2 separate regions of the Homo sapiens genome follow, and region 1 is linked to region 2. Evidence: promoter capture Hi-C in human tissues and cell types (Jung and others, 2019). All regions are on one chromosome and are shown on one strand. The core of a region is centred on a gene start or on the middle of the fragment in contact, and the rest is flanking DNA. Distances in the headings are between cores, read along the strand shown.

Region 1 (3,422 bases), core at 348-2,847, 70 kb before region 2:
TAAATGCTTTTAATAGGTTTTATTTTTATTTTTCTCCTTATTTTATAAAAATTATTTTTTAGTAATAAAATGATTATCTCTTTTCTTAATTGCCTTTAATATATCTCACTGAATCCTGACAATAGCCCTGAGGTAGGTATTACTGTCCCCATTTTGTGGATGAAAGAGACCTATCACCATCACTTCACAGGAGAAACTGAGGTTCAGAATAATTAAATGCTGCACCAGACATCAATCAGGCCAGGGTCTGAAACTTCAGCTTCTGCCTTCAATTCCAATGCTCTGTCAAGGTACAGCACATACTCTCTTCATTAACGGAGTGACAGTAGTATACGATACTTTATCTTGACCTTTCTGAAATGGCAAGAATATGCATGACTCACAGTATATAAATTGTTTTTTATTTTTTTAAATTTATTTCATACACATTTAGTTAAACTTCCCATTAAATGCTGGAAACTAGGAGGGGGGGAAAATAACCTCCATTTTTAAGAAGTCAGTATATTCTATACACACTCCCATACACTTCAATTATGTTCTTTGTCAAAATGCTCTTTGAACAAAAAAGCAAAAAGACATTCATTTAAAAACATGAACAAATTTAAAATGTAAAGTTTTATTTGCTCTAAAATTTGGGTTCCTTTGGTTTTACAAAGACTGTTATGTAATTCAGTAGCACTTTGAAAATTACTAGACCACCTCATTTCCATCCCCAATCAACCTTACAGAATCTCTTTCAATGAAGTCCAGAATCAGTGCAGATTTTATGTATTAAACACAATTCCAAAACAGAGCAAGAGACATTCATTGGCAAAGAAAAATGTGTTCTTGCTTCCTTGCCTCATGAGAATAGAAGCTTTTATGTGTGAAATAACACGTCTGCCAAATGACCTTAAGTTAGTCTTCACAAAATGTTAAGCAAAAAAGCTCCACAAACCAAAAACCAAAATACCTCCCTTCATGCCAGGCATCTTTACAGCCAATTGCCAAAACAAATGATGCAATAAAACCTTGCTGATTCTCTCTCCACAATGCTCTCTATTCCCTCTGTGAAACATCCTGGCTGAAGGACACTGGATGCCCAGGACTCATAGACTACTTTCTGATACCCAAACACACCCACTTCCACCAGCTGAGTTTAATATATACCAAGAGTCAGTTCTGTTTCCTCCCAAACCTGTTTACACCAGTTGTGCCTGACAACATTATTTAATTATATAAATTGAGAAAATATGAATATAAAAATGAAGTTTTTCAATAGAAATTAACTAAAATTATTTGGAAAAGCTCCATAATTACTAAAATAAACTGCTACTGAATTAAATGTTGTCAAGATATCTTACATTTGAGGGGTGGGGGGTCTGATAAAATTTAAATGGATTCTGTCCTCAGATTGGTTCACAGGTATCTTATGGTCTCCATTTCTTTCTTTCTTTCTTTCTTTTCTTTTCTTTCAGGTATCCATGGTCTCCATTTCTTTCTTTTTTTTTTTTTTTTTTTGAGACAGTCTGTCACTCTTTCGCCCAGGCTGGAGTGCAGTGGTGCAATCTCAGCTCACTGCAACCTCTGCCTCCATGGTTAAAGTTATCCTCCCATCTCATCTCAGCCTCCCCAGTAGCTAGGCCTACAAGCATGCACCACCACGCCTGGCTAATTTTTGTATTTTTAGTAGAAACGGGGTTTCACCATGTTACCCAGGCTGGTCATGAGCCCCTGACCTCAAGTGATCTGCCCGCCTTGCCCTCCGAAACTGCTGGGATTACTGGCGTGAGCCACCACGCCTGGCCTCCACTTATTTCAAAGAACTCAAACTAGGAATTATGAACTCTATATTTAGATGTAGGTCATACAAGATAGGTAAGGTAAAACCTTCTTCACTGATCACACTGAAAAAGCTTTAGATATACATCAAATTTGTGGTGAATCAAAGTGTACTTACTGTTGTAAGTTAACATTCACTATAAATAAGTGTAAGCCAGGCACAGTGATATGCATCTGTACTCCTAGCTACTCAGGAGGCTGTGAGGCAGGAGGATTGCTTCAGTCCAGGGGTTTGAGTCTGCAATGTGCTATGATCACACCTATTAACAGCCACTCTACTACAGCCTGGGCAACACAGCAAGACCTCCATTTTTAAAAACATAAAAAAAAAAAAAGACATGAATTTTCTTTTGAGACAGGGTCTTGCTGTGTTGCCCAGGCTGGAGTGCAATGACACCATCTCAGCTCACTACAGCCTCAACCTCCTGGGTTCAAGCAATCCTCCTGCCTCAGCCCCTCCAAGTAGCTGGGACTACAGGTGCATGCCACAACGTCCAGCTAATTTTTGTATTTTTAGTGGAGACATGGTTTTGCCACATTGCCCAGGCTGGTCTCGAACTACGGAGCTCAATCTACCCACCTTGGCCTCCCAAAGTCCTAGGATTACAGGCGTGAACCACTGTGACCAGCCACAAAAAAGTACATGTAATTTTAATGATCCCTTCAGGAAGACTTTTCATTTACCAATAAACTATCACTAAAATAAGAGGATTTCTCCTGCAATTCTTTCTGAGGCAACTTTTTAACGCTATCATAGTTCACCTTCTAGGGCAACCCTAATTTCAACATCTACCCTATTCATTATTTGACAAATATTTTCTCAATACTTTGCCAATAAATATTGCCCAGATTGATATTTCAATTAATCTGTTTATTACAATTCTCCACCAAAAGTAAAAATAGGACTAAAATGCATTGGCAATGTTCTCCCCAAACTGGAGATGCCATGGAGTATACAGTGGATTGTACATCTGACCCTGCATACTTCCAGCATCAGTTCCACAGGCAGGGCAACTTTCTATGAAGTCCAGGTGTTTCTTTTATAGCCCAGTTTTTACAATACAAATTGTACATAATGGGACTGAATATTGAAGGGAATACAATTTACATTATAAGGAATGACAGTGGTCACGATTAGGTCAGGGTCAAAAACCAGCAAGCACCAGGTACATGGGACAAAATATCTGTACAACTTATTTTTGATGCTTGCACTTTCTTACCATTTTATTTCAACCTGTTTATATCAAAATAATGATATAGAAATAAATGATTTTGGTCTGGTCTTTCACATAGCCAGCTTTATGAAGGTAACTAAACTCCAGGCCCCCATACAAAAGGGGTCTGAAAATATCAGTTCCCACTTGCTGCCTTACAGTGTACAACATACTTTTACATTTATTCTTGTTTTCTTATTTTTTAGAGACAGGGTCTTGCTCTGTTGCCCAGGATGGAGGGCAGTGGCATGATCATAGCTCACTGTAACCTTGAACTCCTGGGCTCAAGTGATCCTCCTGCCTCAGCCTCCCAAGTAGGTGGGACTATAGGCATGGCACCATGCTTCGCTAACTTATCTTTTTTATTTTTTATTTTTTTTTTGGTAG
Region 2 (3,380 bases), core at 437-2,936:
GAATCACCTGGGGGGGGGGCTTTTGAGACTCCAGACGCCTAACCCACACCCCAAACCCAACCAATTTAATCAGGATATCTGGGGGTTGGGGGATCAGGGTCCCATATTTTTCGAAGTCCCCAGTGTGATCCAAGATGAAGCCAAGGTTGAGACCTGCTGTCTAGGATCATCCCTCTTCACCTCAAGTAACTTCTGCTGCAAGGCAAACTAGGAAAGCCAACCTAGAGCATTTCACAACCACAGCTTCTGACAGCAGTCACAACAGGACCCCGAATACTGGAACATGACAGGAGCCTGCACCAGGGTCCACACCGAGGGTCCAACAGAGCTTATTAGTAGGGGATTACCCAGCTCCCCATGGGAGAACCATTTTCTCAAACAGTTTGCACTTCAATACAAATAAGTTCAACAATCTTAGGAGATGCCACCAGTGCCTAAATTGGCCTGACCATCAGGAAATTTTTTCCTTCTTTAAGAGACAAACCTCTTGGGAAGGAAAGTCAGTGTGTATGTGGGCACCCCACCGGCCCCCACCCCCAGCCAATCTCTAGAGAAGCAGACAGAAGCATCAATTCCCGTGCGGCTTGGAAAGCACCCCGCGGGCTCCCCGCTGCGCCGGCTCACGCCCACTGCACCTGCCGGCGCTCCGCCGCACCTGCCGTGCGGCGCCCTCCCCTCCTACCTTCCAGCAGCTCGTCCAGGCTGGTGACCTTCCGGCTGCCGTCGATGGTGTAGATAGTGCGGACACCCTGGGGCAGGTTCACGTTGTCCGACAGGGAGCGGGTGAGCTCTATGAGGAGCGCATCGAAGGACCGGAAGCGGTCGCTGGAGATGGCAAACACCAGGCCCTTGAAGTAGCGGTCCCCGTTCCGGTAGAAGCGCGCCTTCTTGGCCTTCTTCTCCGAGCTGAGGGCCTGCAGGGTCCGCGTGCGGTAGAAGCTGCAGTGGGCACTGTGCGCCGGACTGGGGATGAGCCCGTTCCCCTTGGGGCCCGAGCTGCTGCTGCCCCCGGAGGAGCTGGGGGCCCCTCTCCGCGACCCCGGCCGCGGCCTTTTGTCCCGTTCCTCAAAGTGCTCCAGCTCGATACTCCTGGTGCTGGCCATCGCGGCTGCTCCGAGGGCGTCCGCAAAAAGACGTTCCGGGCCGACTAAGGGTGCGAGCGCCGGTGCAGGGACGTCTGACTGCGAGGGCCCTTAACGCGCCGGGACACCTGGCTCTGGCATCCCGCCCTCTCCGCGCAGGTGGGGCCGAGGAGCCGCGGAGGAGCCGACCCGCCCGCGCCCTCAGCTAAAAGTGTCCGCAGCGCCGAGCTGCCCAGGTCATTGTCCAGTGCGACTTGCTCCGTGCCTCCCGCCTGCCGGGGAGCCCCACGCCCCCGCAAGCGCCTCCTCCACCCGGCCACGCCTCACAAGTCCCGCTCGGGAGCCGACCGGGAGAGGCAAAGTTGGGCCGCCCGAGGCTCGCGCTGGGCCCGCGGGCGCCCACAAAGCTCGGGCGTCTGCCGAGCGCTCCCGGGAGCGCCGAGGGGAGGAAGGAAGGAAGGGTGGGGCGGGGCGCGGAGCGTGGGAGAGGCCCCCGGGGGAGTCGCGCGGGCCCAGGCCCGGGGTGCAGCGCCGCCGCCTCGGCCGCGCCCGGATCCCGCCCGCCGGGCAGCGCGCGCCGTTCGGGGCTGAGAGGGCCGTGTCTGGCCCCTTCCTTCCCTGGAGCGCGGCCCTAGCGGGAAATAATGCAGCCCGCCTCCCACGCAGCGGTCAGGCCCGGCCCACTGGCAAGCATCCGCGCTCTGGCCTCCCTCCGCCGCCGACAGGCTGTCAGCGCTGGAGGAGGCTTCCCGGCCCCGGGGATGCCAAACCGCGGAGAAGGGGAGGAGGGGGCGGAGGAGGGGGCGGAGGAGGGGGCCGAGCGCCGGCGCGGGAGGAGCAGCTCCTGCGGGTCCCGGGCAGCCCCGCCCGCCTGACGGCTCCTGCCCGGCGCCGCGCGTTAATGGGCGCAGCCGCGACGCGCGCTCCTCCGCCTGGGAAACGTAACCGCGCAGGCCAAAAACTACAAAGGAAGGAGATTCAAGGGCAGGGAGCACATCCCCAGCCAGCATCCCAGTGAGGACCCCAGGCCAAACTACCGCAGAAATCCGAAGCCCAGCATTGACTTGGGGCACACCATTCATTTTTTTTAAAAAAGATTTGTTGCTTTATTAGAAAATCCTTTGAGAAAACAGCCTCCACTGTTTCCATTGCAGATTCGCTAATATGGTACGTTCAGTAACTTTGAATGAATGATGAGAAGTTATTGGGTGGTAGAGGGGGTTATGTAATCAACGAATATTTATCGAGAGCGTACCATGTGTCAGGCATTGTTTCTGTCACTGGGATGCCCTAACAAAGGAAAGAGAGACTCTGCACCCACTCCCCCCGCCCCGCATATTTAATGTTGTCAATTAAAGCTTCTTACCTAAGAGGCCTATCATTTGTGAGCACCCATCATAGTGGAAATCTTAATGCCGTAGTGTCTATTCAACAATAAAAACATCTTTTCCAAGACTTAAGAGAAATACTAGTTACTTGCATTTTGTTATTAGGAAAAATAAAGCTCAAATATGTTTGATCCCAATTTGGCACGTGAAACCTTAGAACATTCAACACCTGGTTTTCTGAGCAGCCCTAGACAGCAATCCAAACTGACCTTTCAGGAAGAAAGGCATAGTTGCTTTTTTTCGGGTTGAACTGAGTCCTGGAAGAGCATGAATAAAAGAAGGTAGAAGCACATGCAACGGTCTAGCATCTGTGAAGTTGGTGCGCCCCACCAAACACACGCACACACACGCATACACACCCTTCATGGCAGCTCCAGAAAGGTCTCCTGCTCGGTGCACAATACTACTCCTAAGGCAGTTCTGGGCATACACCTGGGCATACCTAACTTCCTGCGGGGTTGGGGCATGCTAGGAAGTCAGAGCTGATCTGAGGCTTCAATGTAGTTTTTCTAGAGGAAAATCCTGCAGCATCATTAGGTCCACCACCTTAAAAGGCCTCAACCTAGATCAGTTAAATCAGAATTTCTGGAGACGGGCTTCTCCAACAGTATTTTTTTAAAAGTACCCCTAAGGTATATCCAGAGTTTCCAACCACAGGCTGTAACACCAGGAATCAAATAAATCAGTGCTTCTTCTCAAACTTTAATATATTTACATGTCATAGGGGAATCTCGTTAAAATGCAGATTGCTATTCTGTAGCTCTGGGGTGGAGTTTGAGATTCTGCATTTCTGATGAGCCCCTGGGTAATGCCAATGCTGCTGGTCTTGGTACAAGACTTTGAGAAACAAGAAACTAAATTGCAAATTTATTGAGATAAGTTTCCATCTAAGTACCAGTAACTCCACAGA

Evidence for each region. Contacts are between HindIII fragments. The study calls those that stand out against the background at their distance.
Region 1: a fragment that was not itself captured here is called in contact with the fragment with the promoter of DCLK2 in region 2 in 2 of the 25 tissues and cell types used here (H1 embryonic stem cells and heart right ventricle).

What each region holds. Positions count from the first base shown.
Region 1 is chr4:150,147,116-150,150,537 of GRCh38, reverse strand. The region is part of intron 2 of DCLK2 (doublecortin like kinase 2); the gene reads right to left. Among named protein-coding and RNA genes, the nearest start is that of DCLK2, 70 kb to the right of the region's middle. The HindIII fragment of the contact is 3,352 bases long and covers 1-3,273 here.
Region 2 is chr4:150,076,751-150,080,130 of GRCh38, reverse strand. DCLK2 (doublecortin like kinase 2) reads right to left here and starts at 1,686. Exons shown (of 16, transcript NM_001040260.4): 1 at 683-1,686. The coding sequence starts at 1,103. The HindIII fragment of the contact is 8,036 bases long and covers 1-3,209 here.